5 separate regions of the Homo sapiens genome follow, and regions 2, 3, 4 and 5 are each linked to region 1. The links are contacts of gene promoters, found by promoter capture Hi-C in blood cells and fetal thymus (Javierre and others, 2016). All regions are on one chromosome and are shown on one strand. Each heading gives the region's core, a stretch centred on a gene start or on the middle of the fragment in contact. The rest is flanking DNA. Distances are from core to core; before and after follow the strand shown.

The links. Contacts are between HindIII fragments. The CHiCAGO score rates a contact against its expected background, and 5 or more counts as called.
Region 2: a fragment that was not itself captured here is called in contact with the fragment with the promoter of ETS1-AS1 in region 1 in 11 of 17 cell types (total CD8 T cells, activated CD4 T cells, naive CD8 T cells and 8 more); the score reaches 23.5 in total CD8 T cells.
Region 3: a fragment that was not itself captured here is called in contact with the fragment with the promoter of ETS1-AS1 in region 1 in 11 of 17 cell types (non-activated CD4 T cells, activated CD4 T cells, naive CD8 T cells and 8 more); the score reaches 35.7 in non-activated CD4 T cells.
Region 4: a contact is called between a fragment that was not itself captured here and the fragment with the promoter of ETS1-AS1 in region 1, in 2 of 17 cell types (total CD8 T cells and non-activated CD4 T cells). The highest score is 5.6, in total CD8 T cells.
Region 5: a contact is called between a fragment that was not itself captured here and the fragment with the promoter of ETS1-AS1 in region 1, in 9 of 17 cell types (activated CD4 T cells, total CD8 T cells, non-activated CD4 T cells and 6 more). The highest score is 13.2, in activated CD4 T cells.

What each region holds. Positions count from the first base shown.
Region 1 is chr11:128,524,743-128,527,519 of GRCh38, reverse strand. It overlaps ETS1-AS1 (ETS1 antisense RNA 1), which reads right to left and starts at 1,378. Exons shown (of 4, transcript NR_120581.1): 1 at 1,205-1,378; 2 at 102-987. All of the region lies in intron 3 of ETS1 (ETS proto-oncogene 1, transcription factor), which reads left to right. The HindIII fragment of the contact is 5,425 bases long and covers 1-1,779 here.
Region 2 is chr11:128,636,020-128,638,796 of GRCh38, reverse strand. No RefSeq gene overlaps it. Among named protein-coding and RNA genes, the nearest start is that of ETS1, 50 kb to the right of the region's middle. The HindIII fragment of the contact is 2,906 bases long and covers 1-2,777 here.
Region 3 is chr11:128,615,599-128,618,375 of GRCh38, reverse strand. The region is part of intron 3 of LOC105369568 (a long non-coding RNA gene); the gene reads left to right. Among named protein-coding and RNA genes, the nearest start is that of ETS1, 29 kb to the right of the region's middle. RefSeq lists enhancers at 2,047-2,547, 2,681-2,777. The HindIII fragment of the contact is 6,898 bases long and covers 1-2,777 here.
Region 4 is chr11:128,441,815-128,444,591 of GRCh38, reverse strand. The region is part of intron 1 of LOC124902789 (a long non-coding RNA gene); the gene reads right to left. Among named protein-coding and RNA genes, the nearest start is that of MIR6090, 79 kb to the left of the region's middle. The HindIII fragment of the contact is 6,754 bases long and covers 1-2,777 here.
Region 5 is chr11:128,459,897-128,462,673 of GRCh38, reverse strand. ETS1 (ETS proto-oncogene 1, transcription factor) reads left to right here. Exons shown (of 10, transcript NM_001143820.2): 10 at 98-2,777. The coding sequence ends at 313. Among named protein-coding and RNA genes, the nearest start is that of MIR6090, 61 kb to the left of the region's middle. The HindIII fragment of the contact is 1,598 bases long and covers 572-2,169 here.

The DNA.
Region 1 (2,777 bases), core at 129-2,628:
TGCAGCAATTCCAGGCAACATGCTCAGCCTGCTTCAGGGAAGCACACAACACTGAGTGTGGATGAGACCTCAGAACCCTCTAACCTTGGGCAGCTCCTTACCTCTTCCTGTCTGAGCCATGTTTGATTTGCTGCAAGAGGAATACGTGTCTAAACTGCTGGATTTTAAAATGTCGCTTGGTCTGTGGATTAGGCCAATCCACCCCACATTGTTGGGGCTGCAGATGCAGTTGAATGGTTCATAATTATAGTCTAAAGAAACTGCAGACAGCAATAGAGCCAACCCAGGCCCTTTCTCTCCTGACAGCCCATGCCAAGCTGTCTCCCACAGGGAACCATAGTGTGGTTATCCTGCAATGTATTTGCCCAAAGACAATACATCCAGTGTAGAGAAGTTGGATTTCTAGAAATTGAGTCTGCTCATCTATCTACTCCCATGTCCATTGTATCCTGTCTTGTGTCTCAAGGGTGTCTGGTACTTCTCCTGCCAAAGTGAAATGCAAAGTAAATGCAAGGAGATGCCAGGGAGAGAACTGCTATCAGGGCATCTGGTTCTAGTACTGACACTGACTTTTTTAGATTGTGTGGCCCTGGAAATAATAATTTCCTCACTCACACTCATTTTTCACCTCTGGTAAATAGGAGTGCTGGACTTGGAGAGCACTGATAAACTCCCATTGAGCTCTAACATGTGACAAATCCAAGACCTAAGGTTTTGTCTCCAAAGAGGCACTACAAATGTGATCTTCTTTCAGAATTTAAACTGTCACTTTTCTGTGACTCAAAACAAATATAAATCTAGTTCTCTTCTCCAATCAGGTAGTTCTCGAATTTCTCAAGTGAGGCTGATGCTGGGCAGGTTGCCAGTTTAAGAACTGAGGAAGGGTCTTGAAGAGATTTTTAAATGAAATGTGGTGATAGTTGTTCTATCTCTCGCTGGAGATCGTTCAGGAAAATTGAGCATCCAAGCTATTCTGCAAAGAGATGGCTGTAGACAGACATTTAATGTGATTTCCCACATATTCTACCGTATACTAGATCTTAATAACAATAATCAAATACTAATTCTCACCTAGACACTGTGCTAAATTCTTTGCATACATTATCTCATTTAATCATTCAAATAGCCTTAAAAGGTGTGTGCTGCTATTATCCCTAGTTGAAACATGGAGGAACTGAGGTTCGGGATTGTTTAAATGACTTACCTGTGGCAATTCAGCTGGCTAGTTGGTAGAGTAAGAATTTGAACCTGAGTCTTATTCCAAAGCCCACACTACTATCCTCTTTGTTTTCTTATATTGAGCTTTCCAGGGCAAACAGGCTCCCAAGTCCTCCCCTCTCCCCCAACCCCACCCCACCCTCCCTTCTTCCCTCCTGACTGCAGCTCCTCCTACCCTCATTGTTTATTGTGCCTTCTAAACAATAGCCAATGAGTCTGTGTTCCATTCTAGGGAGAGCTAGGGCTGATTTTATTCCCTGAAACAGAGATGAGGTTGTGACACAAAAAGGTTAAGTGGCTTTGGTGAGGTCACAGAGCCAGCCTGCAGTCAGCAACAGTACCATCTGAGTCCCCTGGCTTGGGTCCCTTAACTGACCCTAAGGCTTTTTGGCATCCAAGTTTAATTAAGAGAGTTATTTTAATTTTCCTTCCTATCTCTAATTTTCCATTTTATTGCTGCTTGATAATGTAGATATTGAAGTGCCAGGCATTTTTCTTCCCTAGTGTGACTTTTAATGACTAAACTTCTCACATAGAAACCACTTGCCTTAGAAGTAAGCTTTCAAAGCTTGTTTCTGTGTATGACAGAGACTGTTGCCTTTTCTCAGAGAAAAATGAGACCACAAATGCAGCTCAGACAGGTTGTTGTTAATTGAGGGCTTTTTTTTTTTTTTTTTTTTTTCTAAATCTTACATTTATACCAGTAAATCAACATCTGTGAGTCATAAACTGGTTCTGGATCAGCCGTTAGTGGTCTGAATGTTTTTGTACCTACCTTCAGTAAAGCATATTTTAGCTCAAAACTCAGAGATTCTTTGTTTTGTTGAAGTTCAAGACTCAGGAGTAGATAACATGCTAGGACACTTCTGGAGAGGGAAAGTCTGTCTTCCATGATTGTTCAACATTAAGTGTATATTTATATTTCTTTTTTATTGAAGTTGGGGTGGAGTTGAGGGAGGAGTATAAATAAAAAAGAAAGTATGCTTTTTACATACTCCATGTGCTTGAGGAATTCCTGTATGAAGGTGACTATTTTCTTAATATTATTGTCTAGCTCCACTCTTCTGTTCCCCAACTCCTGCGGACTTTTCTTGGCCCTTATTGACTTCACGTTCCTAGTGTAAGGCAATTCAGCACTTGGTAGGATATAATTAGCCGAAGTCTAAGGAATGCTTAAAAATACAATTCTGTTTTTTCCCAAATGCAGGAGGAACAGACTGCTGCAGTACAAGCACAAGCACAGAAGTATTTATTTGATTGATTTTTTTTTTTCCTGAGTGCCTTAAAAACCAGATATGGTATTGAAGTATCTTGCCCAAGTGGATGAAAGGCAACGCTTGGCTGCTGTTGTTTGGCTGGTGGGGACACTGAGGCATACATGTAACCGAGTGGACGTGAGTGCTGGGGATAGAGGTTCTGCTCTACTATGAAGGGAAAAGGGCACAGCCTCTGACACTTTTTAGTTCATCTTCACAAGCCAGAGCATATCAAACTCACTTAATCATTGAATTAGGAAGCCCATAGTGACCAAAAAGTTGATAGTTCATCATTCAACACAT
Region 2 (2,777 bases), core at 169-2,668, 110 kb before region 1:
TTAGAAGCTCTGATTGATTTCTTTTTAAGATTTTATCTCTTATTTCCTGAATTGTTTTAGAAATTTCTTTGTGTTGATTTACAACCTTGTCTTGGATATCAATGAGCTTCCTGCAATCTATGCTTTGAATTCTTTATCTGGTATTTCTGAGTTTCCATTTTGGTTAGGGACCATTGCTGGAGAGGTAGTGCAATCCTTTGATGTGGTCACTACATTCAGATTTTTCATGGGGCCAGAATTCTTGCACTGGTTTTCTCTCATTTGGAGATGCTGGCACTTCTAATTTTTGTAATTATTTTCGTGCAGGTAGGATTTTTCTTTTTCTTTCTCACCCTATACTGATACAATTTTTCTTTTTTTTTCTTTCCCTTTCTCTTTCCCTCAATTCCTAGGAGGCATGACTGTAGAGAATTCTGGGTAGAGTCTTTTGACTTTGTTTCTATAGTCATATGCACTCCTTCCAGCAGGTTTTATATTGGGCTGTGCAGCTCATCCTACAAGCCTATAGATGGCATTTATAGGTATGAACCACCTGCGGGCAATGTGGTTGGGTATATATTGATCCTTGTTTACTGGGAGAAGCTCTCTGTTGCCTCAGGCAATGGGCTGATTTGTGGAATGTCCAGTGGTCTGAGCTCCCTGCTCAGCCTTGAAGGGGCGGGAGCCACAAAGTGTAGGGCTGGACCAGGCAGGTCCTCCTGCAGTTCCCCTAATGGCAGGCATAAGCACCAGTGCCAAGGGATAATCCAGTGGGTAGCCACCAGGCACCCAGAGGTGTGTCTAGTCATGGAGCTGGAAAACCTCCTTGGCTCCAAGTTCTCTGCTTAGGGATGGGGGTGTGTGGTAGCCTAAGCTCCTAATCCAGGAGAGTGAGAGCTCCAGATGCCTGGAGATCTGCCTGGACACGAAGCAAAGAGGGCCTCCTTGCACCAGGATCTCTGCACAGGAAGGATAGGACTAGTTAGGGTGTTGATCCAGGTGAGCACTACTCCAAATGCCTGAAACTGCCTGGGTCTGAAGCAGAGAGAGTACCCCTGAAACAAAATCTCTGAACAGGAGAGGTGGGGCATCTCAGGCTGCTGGACCAAGCAAGCAGGTGCTCTGAATGCCTGGAGATTTTCCTGGGCATATAGCAGAGAGGGTTCCCTTGCACCTGGATCTCTGCATAGGAAGGGTAGGGCAGCTCAGACTGCTGAACCAGGAGAAAAGTTGCTCTGAATGCCTGGAGGTCTGCCTGGGCATGGAGCAGAGTCTTACTTTACCACAATCTATGTCTAGTAAGGGCGGGGCAACTTAGGCTGCCGAATCAAGCTAGCAGGTACTCTGAAAATCTGGAGACCTGCCTGGGCAAGGAGCAAAGAGCCCCATAGCACTAAGATCTTATGTCCAGGAATGGTGGAGCAGCTCAGGCTGCTGAACCAAGAGAATGAGTGCTCCTAATGCCTGGAGATCTGTCTGGGCATGGAGTAGAAAGGGCCCGACTGCACTATGATCTCAGGAGAGCAGGGTAGGGGACCCAGCAATGGCACACACAGATCAGTTTCAGGTCTCCAAGCTGGCTGTGACTACAAGTCTCACCATCCAGGAGAAACTGCAGCTGTAGCTCTCCTCCCACCCCAGGCTTGTGAAGAGGGAGAGCACAATTCCAGCACCTACTGCTGAGGTGCCTTCCACAGTTCTGGCTGTGGAGGCTCCTACTCTGCTCCAGAGCAGGTGCTCCAGTCTCTGGCCTGAGACTACAATGCCTGCACAGCCAGACTGCTGGGTTGCCAAGAAATGGCTGACTTAGTATGCACCCAGATTAAAAATGGTGTCCTGCTCTCAGTCCCAGGTCTAAGAAAATGTCTACAGCTTTTCTTGGTGTCTTTACCTCGCTGGACCTCCATGTATCTCCCCAAATTAGCTCCAGGGCTTAGGAGAAGCAAAGTGCAATCCCTTGGCCTGGGTTGTTCAGATCCCCAGGGGAAAGATGAGCCACAGACGAAGGCTTTCTGCCTCTCACTTATGGGGCTTCACTCACTTTTATCAGCCGGATGCCGTCACAGGGGCTGTTTGCTGTCATTCTCCTCTTTGAGATCTGGGGTGTCCATGATTCTGGTAGATTCTCATTTTCCTTTTTGAATTGAAGCTCACAGAGTTAATCTTTATGTTCTATTTTTCTGTTTCCAAGTGGCTGAGGTATGCTAAAAGCCTCTAATCTGCCATCTTGGATAAAAACAAACAAACCAACCTATAACTGTTCAGTTGTCTTTTATGCCTGTTACTAAAATATTGTCAGCATTAGCCTGTGAGTTCCAAGATTGGGTGGCATGTTTGTTTTCTTCTCTGTGCAGCAGGGAGCCCTGACACACCTAGCATGGCCATTTTTCAGGGCAGCAGGTAGTGTGACCTGACCTTGCACAGCACTGAGAGTGAGTTTTTCCTGTATTTCATGCCCTCAGCACCTAACTTGCTGAGCTCCAGCCTAGCCTCTCACCACTGCTCCCAACAGGGAGATGGAGCATCTGGAATAGACTCCAGGAGACAGAGGATGTGGAGAAGGCGGGGAATCACAGGGGGAGCCATGGCAGCCCTTTTGTTTCCTAAAGGCCAGTCCAAATTCTGTCTTAAATCCTGGCTCAGGTTGGGCACCAAAATACCTTGTACCAAAGGTCAGTTATTTGCAGTTGGCTATATTCAGCCATACTGCTTATGCCACCAACATGTGGTCACTGCACACAGGGAACCCCTTCTCCCCACCCACCTCCGATTTCCCTTTCTCTATTGTCCTCTTAACC
Region 3 (2,777 bases), core at 206-2,705, 91 kb before region 1:
CACTACTGGTATCCTGACATCACTTTCCACTGCTGCCTTTTTTTTTTTCATGTTGAGCCAAGGGTCAGCTTGGAAAAGACATTGCTGTCCCACTACCTTCTCTCCCATTCCTTGCAATAAAAAAGAAATCTCTGGCTAAAATTCTCTACTCCTCCAGTATTCATAGAGCCCCTTCTCCACCTCCTACCTCCCATCCCTCTCCCCGCCTCCCCCAGCCGGGGCACAGATTGGAGGCAGCAGACAAACGCAAAGACCACACCTCTGCCGACCTTGTGCTTCTCATCTCTAAGACAGATCTGGAGGCAAAGCTGGAAATCAGGAGGGAAGAGAAGCAGCCCCCCACACACAGCACAGAGCCTGGCGGGGAGTAGGGTTGGGACCCCTGAAAGAGACCTGTGGAGGATCAGTCACGTTGGATGAAAGAGCCCCCTGCATTCATTTGTCCATCCACCCAACCAGTGACCCCTGAGTGCCAACCTGGGGCGTGAGACAAACCTACTTTCTCATAGAGCTCGGGCTAGTGGGGAACTCAGGCACTACAGAGGCCCACAAACCACAGCTTGCAAAGAGATTTTGCGGCTATGAAAGGGGCAGCTGGGGTCCCAGGCTGGAGAATCGTGTGCCCCTGCCTTGGCCCAGGAGGTGGAGGACAGGAATAAGGTGAGTTATAGATGCATCTCACTGCCTACCTCCATTCCGCTCACTATTCCATCTTTGGTGACTTTGGTGACTTTTCTCTTTTAGTCATCTCAGAGCCTCTCTCATGTATTCACATCCCCATTTTCTGCTTTCCACATTCTCTCAGCTGCTCCTTGTCTATCCTAACCCTAGAGACCTAGAGGCTTCCTTTTCTTTCATGCTTGGCTTTTCCCAGTGAAAGCCCTGGAGTCCCTAATCTCCCTTTCTCCCCTAATCATCACCCTTTCTCCCCTAATCACCCTTTCTCCCATAATCACCAGACCTCATAGACTTGGGGGCTAGAAGAAAACTTCAAAGTAAACATGCCTGGTCTCCTGGCCTTCTGGACCTACCCCTTCTTCCCCAATTCTCTCCCTCATTCACCATCACTCCATTCTTTCCTCTCCTCCCTCTGCCTCTCTCCACCTCCTGGTGCTGCTATCCCATCTGCCGGGCAGGATGATGAGTGGTCTCAAGTCAGGAAGGAGAGCCCCTCCCCTGGGCAGCTCCTCTTCCCAGGCACACGGAAAGACCTTGCTTTGGTCATTGCCTTTCTGATATGGGGCAAGTTGATTAGCCATAGTTCTGTGGTTGTCACTTCATCCTTCCCTGCTTTTGTCCTGTGCTTCTTTGTTCTGTCAAACTCACAGGAGAAGGAAGTAGGCAATTTACTGTTTTTCTGGAGAAAGGAGAATGCAGGGAAGTGAGGACCCAGAGATGTTTGGGCTGTGCTTTTTGATACATGGTCTGCGGCTTTGTTAGATCCCCCTCCCTTTCTTTCTTGATGCAAAATGCTTTAGAAGGAGGAAAATTGCATTTAATGTTTGAGTATTCTCTTTCTCCACAGATGTCCGGGAAGCTGGTGTCGGTGGCGGGCTGTGTTCTCAGGCCCAGGGACGCTGTGGCAGGGACTGGATGGGAATGCAGCAGGGCCGTGTATTAGCTGTGCAGCCTTGGGAAAAGTACTTCATTGTTCTGAGCCTCATTTTCTTATTTGTCTGTTCTGATTGCCTTTCAGTGACACCATAGAGATTATTTTTCAGCTTGCTCCTCTGTGAGGATCAAATCTATTGAAGTATCTAAAGTACCTGGCACAGGGTCCTGCACATACACCTCATTTAAATGATCAAGTACATACTAAGCAGCTCATGTTCAATTCTGAAAACTGTCCTGGGCCTGGGCCATGTGTTCGGAGTGTGGAGAAGAGGGAGCCAGTATTCCCCTCCCCTGGTCAGGGGGCCTGGGTCTGCGCCAGAGAACAGAAGGGCCGGCAGCCAGGCCTCTGTCCCCAAGAGCTGGGGCGCACATTAAAGCCTGTCATGGCTCAGGAACTGGGCCCGCTGCGCTGGGCATCTGGATGTTCTTAGATCTCTGTCTGGATTCCTTCTGCTTGTCTTGTGGAATTACTTATCAGCAGCAGGCAGACCAGACCCTGGGCTTTCCTCCCCACATGGCCCAGCCCCAGGCCTTCCTATCCGTAAACACTAGTGCAGGGGATGGGGGAGTTGCTTCAGGACCTGTGGATGAGGCTTCCCTGTGTGCTCCTCGGCCCCCTACGGCAGCTGCTGCTGTCTCTGTACAAAAGCAGGACCTCCAGCCTGTGCCCAGCTGCCCTCAGCAACCTGCATCTTCAGATGAGAGATGTGTAGGAATCAGAAGGGAATTTCAAAATTATTTGAAAAGTGTGACTGTTGAGGGCTGTCACTTGTATCTACTCCCTGGACCATTTTTCCCCCACAATACTCCTGTTATCACCCCCTTCCCTCCAGGGTTGATTCCACTTTTCTTTGGTTAGACCCATGGTGACATCCCTTTGCGCTTGTGAATCCGAGGGTGGAGGCGGGTTGGTGTTGGAAACCATGCCCGGCCTTTGCAGTTCTGTCCAATCAGCAATTCTAGGCAGGAATTTCAGGGATGCAGGGAGGGAATTACCCCTGAATAGGAAACTTCTGGAGATAGAGGCCTTTGGGCAACCCTCGGATCCCTCTGAAATTAGCATGTTGATGCTTGGTCCTCGTCTTGTTTTGCTATTCTTGGTGGCAGGTGATGCCATCAGTCTCGCTCTCTTGCTGTGCTTCCTCAGTGGGCCTTTGGACTGC
Region 4 (2,777 bases), core at 100-2,599, 83 kb after region 1:
TGATTAGCTTATGGAGATTTTGGGCTGAGATGATGGGGTTTTCTAAATATACAATCATGCCATCTGCAAACAGGGCCAATCTGACTTCCTCTTTTCTTAATTGAATACCCATTATTTCTTTCTCTTGCCTGATTGCCCTGGCCAGAACTTCCAACACTATGTTGAATAGGAGTGGTAAGAGAGGGCATCCCTGATAAAAGACATCTTTCAAGCAGAAGAAAAATGATACCAGATAGAAGTCTGATATACTGGATAGAATTAAGAGCCTTGAAAAAAAATTATGTAGACAAATATATTTTCTCATTTTAAACATTTCATTGAAAACTTGGTTTTTTAAAGCAAACACAGAAACAATGTAATATAGGTCTTATTACATATGTAGAAATAAAAATAATATGTATGACGACAACAGTAGTATAAAATTCAGGAGACAGAGAATGGAAGTACATTGTTGCAAGGTTTTCTAATACGCATGTACAAAGTGGTATAATGTTACTTGAAAGATAACTGTGATAAGTTAAAGACGTAATCAATGACACTATATCAACCACTAAAATAATACAACAAAGGATATACGAAATATTTTTAAAAGTATAATTAACCCAAAAGAAAGCATAGAGGAAAAAGGGAACAAAGAATAATAGATGGAATAAACAGAAAAAACTAGCCAGCTGGTAAATTTAAAACCGATCATATACATATTCACATTAAATACAAAAAGTTTAAACACTTCAAAGTCAAGTCAGAGGTGTCATATTGGATAAAAAGAAAGACTCAACTATATGTTACCTATAAGGAATGCACTTTAAATATACAAACATATTAAAATAAAAAGATGAAAAGTTATATACAATGTTAATACTCATCAAAATAAAGCTAATGAGGCTATATTCATATTAAAAAGTAGGTTTTAAAGCAAAGATTACCAGGGATAAAGAGGGCCATTTAATAATGATAAAGTAGTCGCCTCATCAAGATGATATAACAATCCTAAATATTTACACATATAATAACTGAGCATCAAAATACATGGAGCAAAACTTAAGGAAAAACAAACATATTCACAGTTATAGTCAGAGATTTCAGTAATTGATAGAACATATAGACAGAAAGTCCATAAGTATTTAGAAGATTTGAATAACACTATTAACTAAATTGACCTAACTGACAATTACGGAACATTGCACCCAACAACAACAACCACCGAATATACTTTTTATTTAAGTATTAATGAAACATTTCCCAAGAGAGACCATATGTTGAATGAGAAAACAAATCCCAGTAAATTTAAAAGGAGTCAAGTAATAGAAAATCTGTCCTACAGTAACCACAATTGAATTAAATCAGAAATGAGTGTATCAGAAAGATATCTGGGATATCCCAAGTAGTCTCAAGATAATATTTAAAATAACTCATGGATCATTGACAAAATCAAAAGAGAAACTGGAAAGTATTTGGAACTCGATGAAAATGAAAACAAAATACAAAAAATATGTGAGATGTAGCTCAGGCAGCACTTAGGGGAACATTTATAGAACAAAAAGGTTTCATATTAAAAAAGAAAAACATCTTCAAATCAATGAACTCAGCTTCTGCCTTAAGAAACTAGAAGAATAAAAGCAAATAAAACCCAAAGAAAGGAAAAGACATGAAATGATCAGAGCCAAAATAAATGCACTGGAAAACAGAAAAACAATTGAAAAAAAATCAATGAAATCAGGAGATGGTTCCTTGCAAAACTCATAAAGATCAATAATCTTCTAGCTAGACTTATTAGCACAAAAAGAGAAAAGACAAACTACCAATATCAAAAATGAGAGAGGGGGCATATCTAGTTTCTAAAGATATTAAAATATAACAAGCCAAATAGTACAAACTGTATTATTGCAGTTATATAAAATTCTAGAAAAAAGCAAATTATTCTGTCCTGAGAGAAAACAGATCAGCAGTTGCTGAGGATGGAGGTGCAGGAATAATGGATTATAAAGGGACACAAAGAAACTTCTGGAGTTGATTAAATGTTTGTTATTTTGATTGTGGTGATGGTTTCATGAGTATATACGTATTCAAAAGCTGATCAAATTGTACATTTTATACATGTATGGTTTAATGTACTTTAATTATACCTCAATAAAGTTTCTCTGTAATGTCAGCAGTGGCTGATTAGCTCAGTTGGTTGTTGTCCAGTGTTAATGAGGCCAAGACCACAAGCTCAAGTCATTCATAGCCCAGTTAGCTTTTCTATTCCCAGTAGCAACAAAATGCACCTCTATTTTCCTAAAATTTAAGGTCATTGGGTTAGAGTGTGAATGGCTCAGGGAAACCCATAACCACTACAAGGAAAAAATAATTTCTCGGAGTAAATTGTTTACAGATGATGGATCTTACCAGATTCTTGGTTTACAATGGTGAGCACTGTTTCTTGTTTTCTCTAAAATGGTTTCTAACTAATCCCACTTAATTCTGTATTTCACTTTATCTCTTAACATTAAAGACCAAATTAATCGACACATTAAGAGTAACTATTACTTACATAAGTACATATAAATATTTTCATGTCATTTCTTGGCATCTAAATATCTGTTCTTCCTTTTCCTTCTTTTAAATAAAATTTAAATAGTTTCACTGCGGTATAATTGATACATCATAAGCTGTGCAAATTAAAACGCATAATTTGATAGGGTTTAACTTATTGTACACTGTGAAACTATTACCGCATTAACGCTAATGAACACATCACCCAAAGTTCCCTCTAGCCTTGTGTAATCCCTTCCTCC
Region 5 (2,777 bases), core at 121-2,620, 65 kb after region 1:
CCATGAATGGGTATAGCATAGGCATAGAAACATATATATTTGGCCTGTCTTGTAGATTTTTGCCTACTCCTCCTTTATTTTTCTTTTTAAATTTCAGGTGGCCAGGAGATGGGGAAAGAGGAAAAACAAACCTAAGATGAATTATGAGAAACTGAGCCGTGGCCTACGCTACTATTACGACAAAAACATCATCCACAAGACAGCGGGGAAACGCTACGTGTACCGCTTTGTGTGTGACCTGCAGAGCCTGCTGGGGTACACCCCTGAGGAGCTGCACGCCATGCTGGACGTCAAGCCAGATGCCGACGAGTGATGGCACTGAAGGGGCTGGGGAAACCCTGCTGAGACCTTCCAAGGACAGCCGTGTTGGTTGGACTCTGAATTTTGAATTGTTATTCTATTTTTTATTTTCCAGAACTCATTTTTTACCTTCAGGGGTGGGAGCTAAGTCAGTTGCAGCTGTAATCAATTGTGCGCAGTTGGGAAAGGAAAGCCAGGACTTGTGGGGTGGGTGGGACCAGAAATTCTTGAGCAAATTTTCAGGAGAGGGAGAAGGGCCTTCTCAGAAGCTTGAAGGCTCTGGCTTAACAGAGAAAGAGACTAATGTGTCCAATCATTTTTAAAAATCATCCATGAAAAAGTGTCTTGAGTTGTGGACCCATTAGCAAGTGACATTGTCACATCAGAACTCATGAAACTGATGTAAGGCAATTAATTTGCTTCTGTTTTTAGGTCTGGGAGGGCAAAAAAGAGGTGGGTGGGATGAAACATGTTTTGGGGGGGGATGCACTGAAAATCTGAGAACTATTTACCTATCACTCTAGTTTTGAAGCAAAGATGGACTTCAGTGGGGAGGGGCCAAAACCGTTGTTGTGTTAAAATTTATTTTATTAAATTTTGTGCCAGTATTTTTTTTCTTAAAAATCGTCTTAAGCTCTAAGGTGGTCTCAGTATTGCAATATCATGTAAGTTTGTTTTTATTTGCCGGCTGAGGATTCTGTCACAATGAAAGAAAACTGTTTATATAGACCCCATTGGAAAAGCAAAACGCTCTCACTGAGATCAGGGATCCCAAATTCATGGGACTTATATAAGAAGGACAATTAATGCTGATTTGGGTACAGGGGAATTATGTGTGTGAATGTCATCTACAATTAAAAAAAATTAGCACATCCCTTTACTTACTTGTTATCAGTGGATTCTCGGGGTTTGGACTTAATGTTGAGCTAAGAAGCATTAAGTCTTTGAACTGAATGTATTTTGCATCCCTGGTTTTGGACGACAGTAAACGTAGGAGCACTGTTGAAGTCCTGGAAGGGAGATCGAAGGAGGAAGATTGACTTGGTTCTTTCTTAGTCCTATATCTGTAGCATAGATGACTTGGAATAAAAGCTGTATGCATGGGCATTACCCCTCAGGTCCTAAGAAATAAGTCCTGAATGCATGTCGTTCCAAACTAACACTCTGTAATTTTTCTTTTATGTCTTATTTTCCAAGAGTCCTCCATTTTTTGCACCCCCTCACCGCCAACTCTGTTATTCAGTAGAGAGAAGTGTACGGCTTTCTGATTGGTGAGTGAAAAAGTAACTTGAGACACGACCTAAGTTGAAGAGTTTAGACTTGCTGAGTTTTAGAAGTGATGGAAATTAAGAGAGCATTTCAATAAAATGTGACTTGGCTGTCTTTGGAAGAGAAGTGCAAGGCTTTCCTTTGAAGAATTTAAATTAGTCCGGTAGGATGTCAGGTGAGACTGTGTATGCAAAATGAATGGCACAGGTGATGCCAGGGCCTCTTGCTTGGGTCTGATGTCTTGGCACAGGGTAAGTGAAGGTTAATTCCAGAAGAGAGGAATGACTTGAAGGCAAAGGAAACTAAGGAAGGAGGTTCAGTGAGGAAAATAAGGTTGTCCATGAGATTTGAATAGATTTTTAGTTCCCCCAAGGTTTAAATACAAACATAGTCAAGCAAGGTAGTCATCTTTCTGCTGGTTGTGAGGGGGAATCTGAAAATGGAGTTTTAGAGGAAAAGTCAACATCTAACTAGTGAGGAAAAGTGCCTAATACAATTAGAATCTCCCTCACTCTATAGTTGCCCAGTTGAAAGGATAAGGAGGAGGGGTGGCTTTTATGGACTTCCATGAGAGAAGGAAAGAAATATTTCAGGTAAGCTTCTCAGGGCTGGCCCTTTTTGGGATTTGGATGAGAAATTGGAAGTACTAACTACTTTCTAGCATATCTTTAAGAAAATTGATTGTTATTTACTCCCAGATCCTCTTGCAGACCCAGAATTATCAGGAACATAGCTCTGTGATTCATGAGTGTCCCCATACTGATGAATTGGAGCATCCATATGGAAAGCAAAGGCAGAATTATCCCAGCTGTATTATTTTGATCTTTTGGATGCAGGTGCCTTAATGAAGCTCTCAAAATATTTTAGGAGCTGCTCAGGGAGTGTTGGGTGGAACTGTTTGGACTACATTGTTTTCTCTTAGATTATGTGATTTTTGTTGGGCACTGGCAAAAGGTGTGTGTGTGAATGTGTGCATGTGTGTGAATGTTGTGTGTGTGTGTGTGTGTGTGTGTGTGTGTGTGTGTGTGTGTGTTTGCAGACATGCAAAACTGCAGCTGAAATAATACCTTAGATTTCTAGGTAAGTCTTTCCACATTTCAATAATGGGTAAGAGTAGAACCAGGGCCGGGTATCAATTATTGCTTGCTGTTTGCAACCAGGCATAAAATCACTTTCTCAAATCATCCACCGTTCCTATTAAATTTATG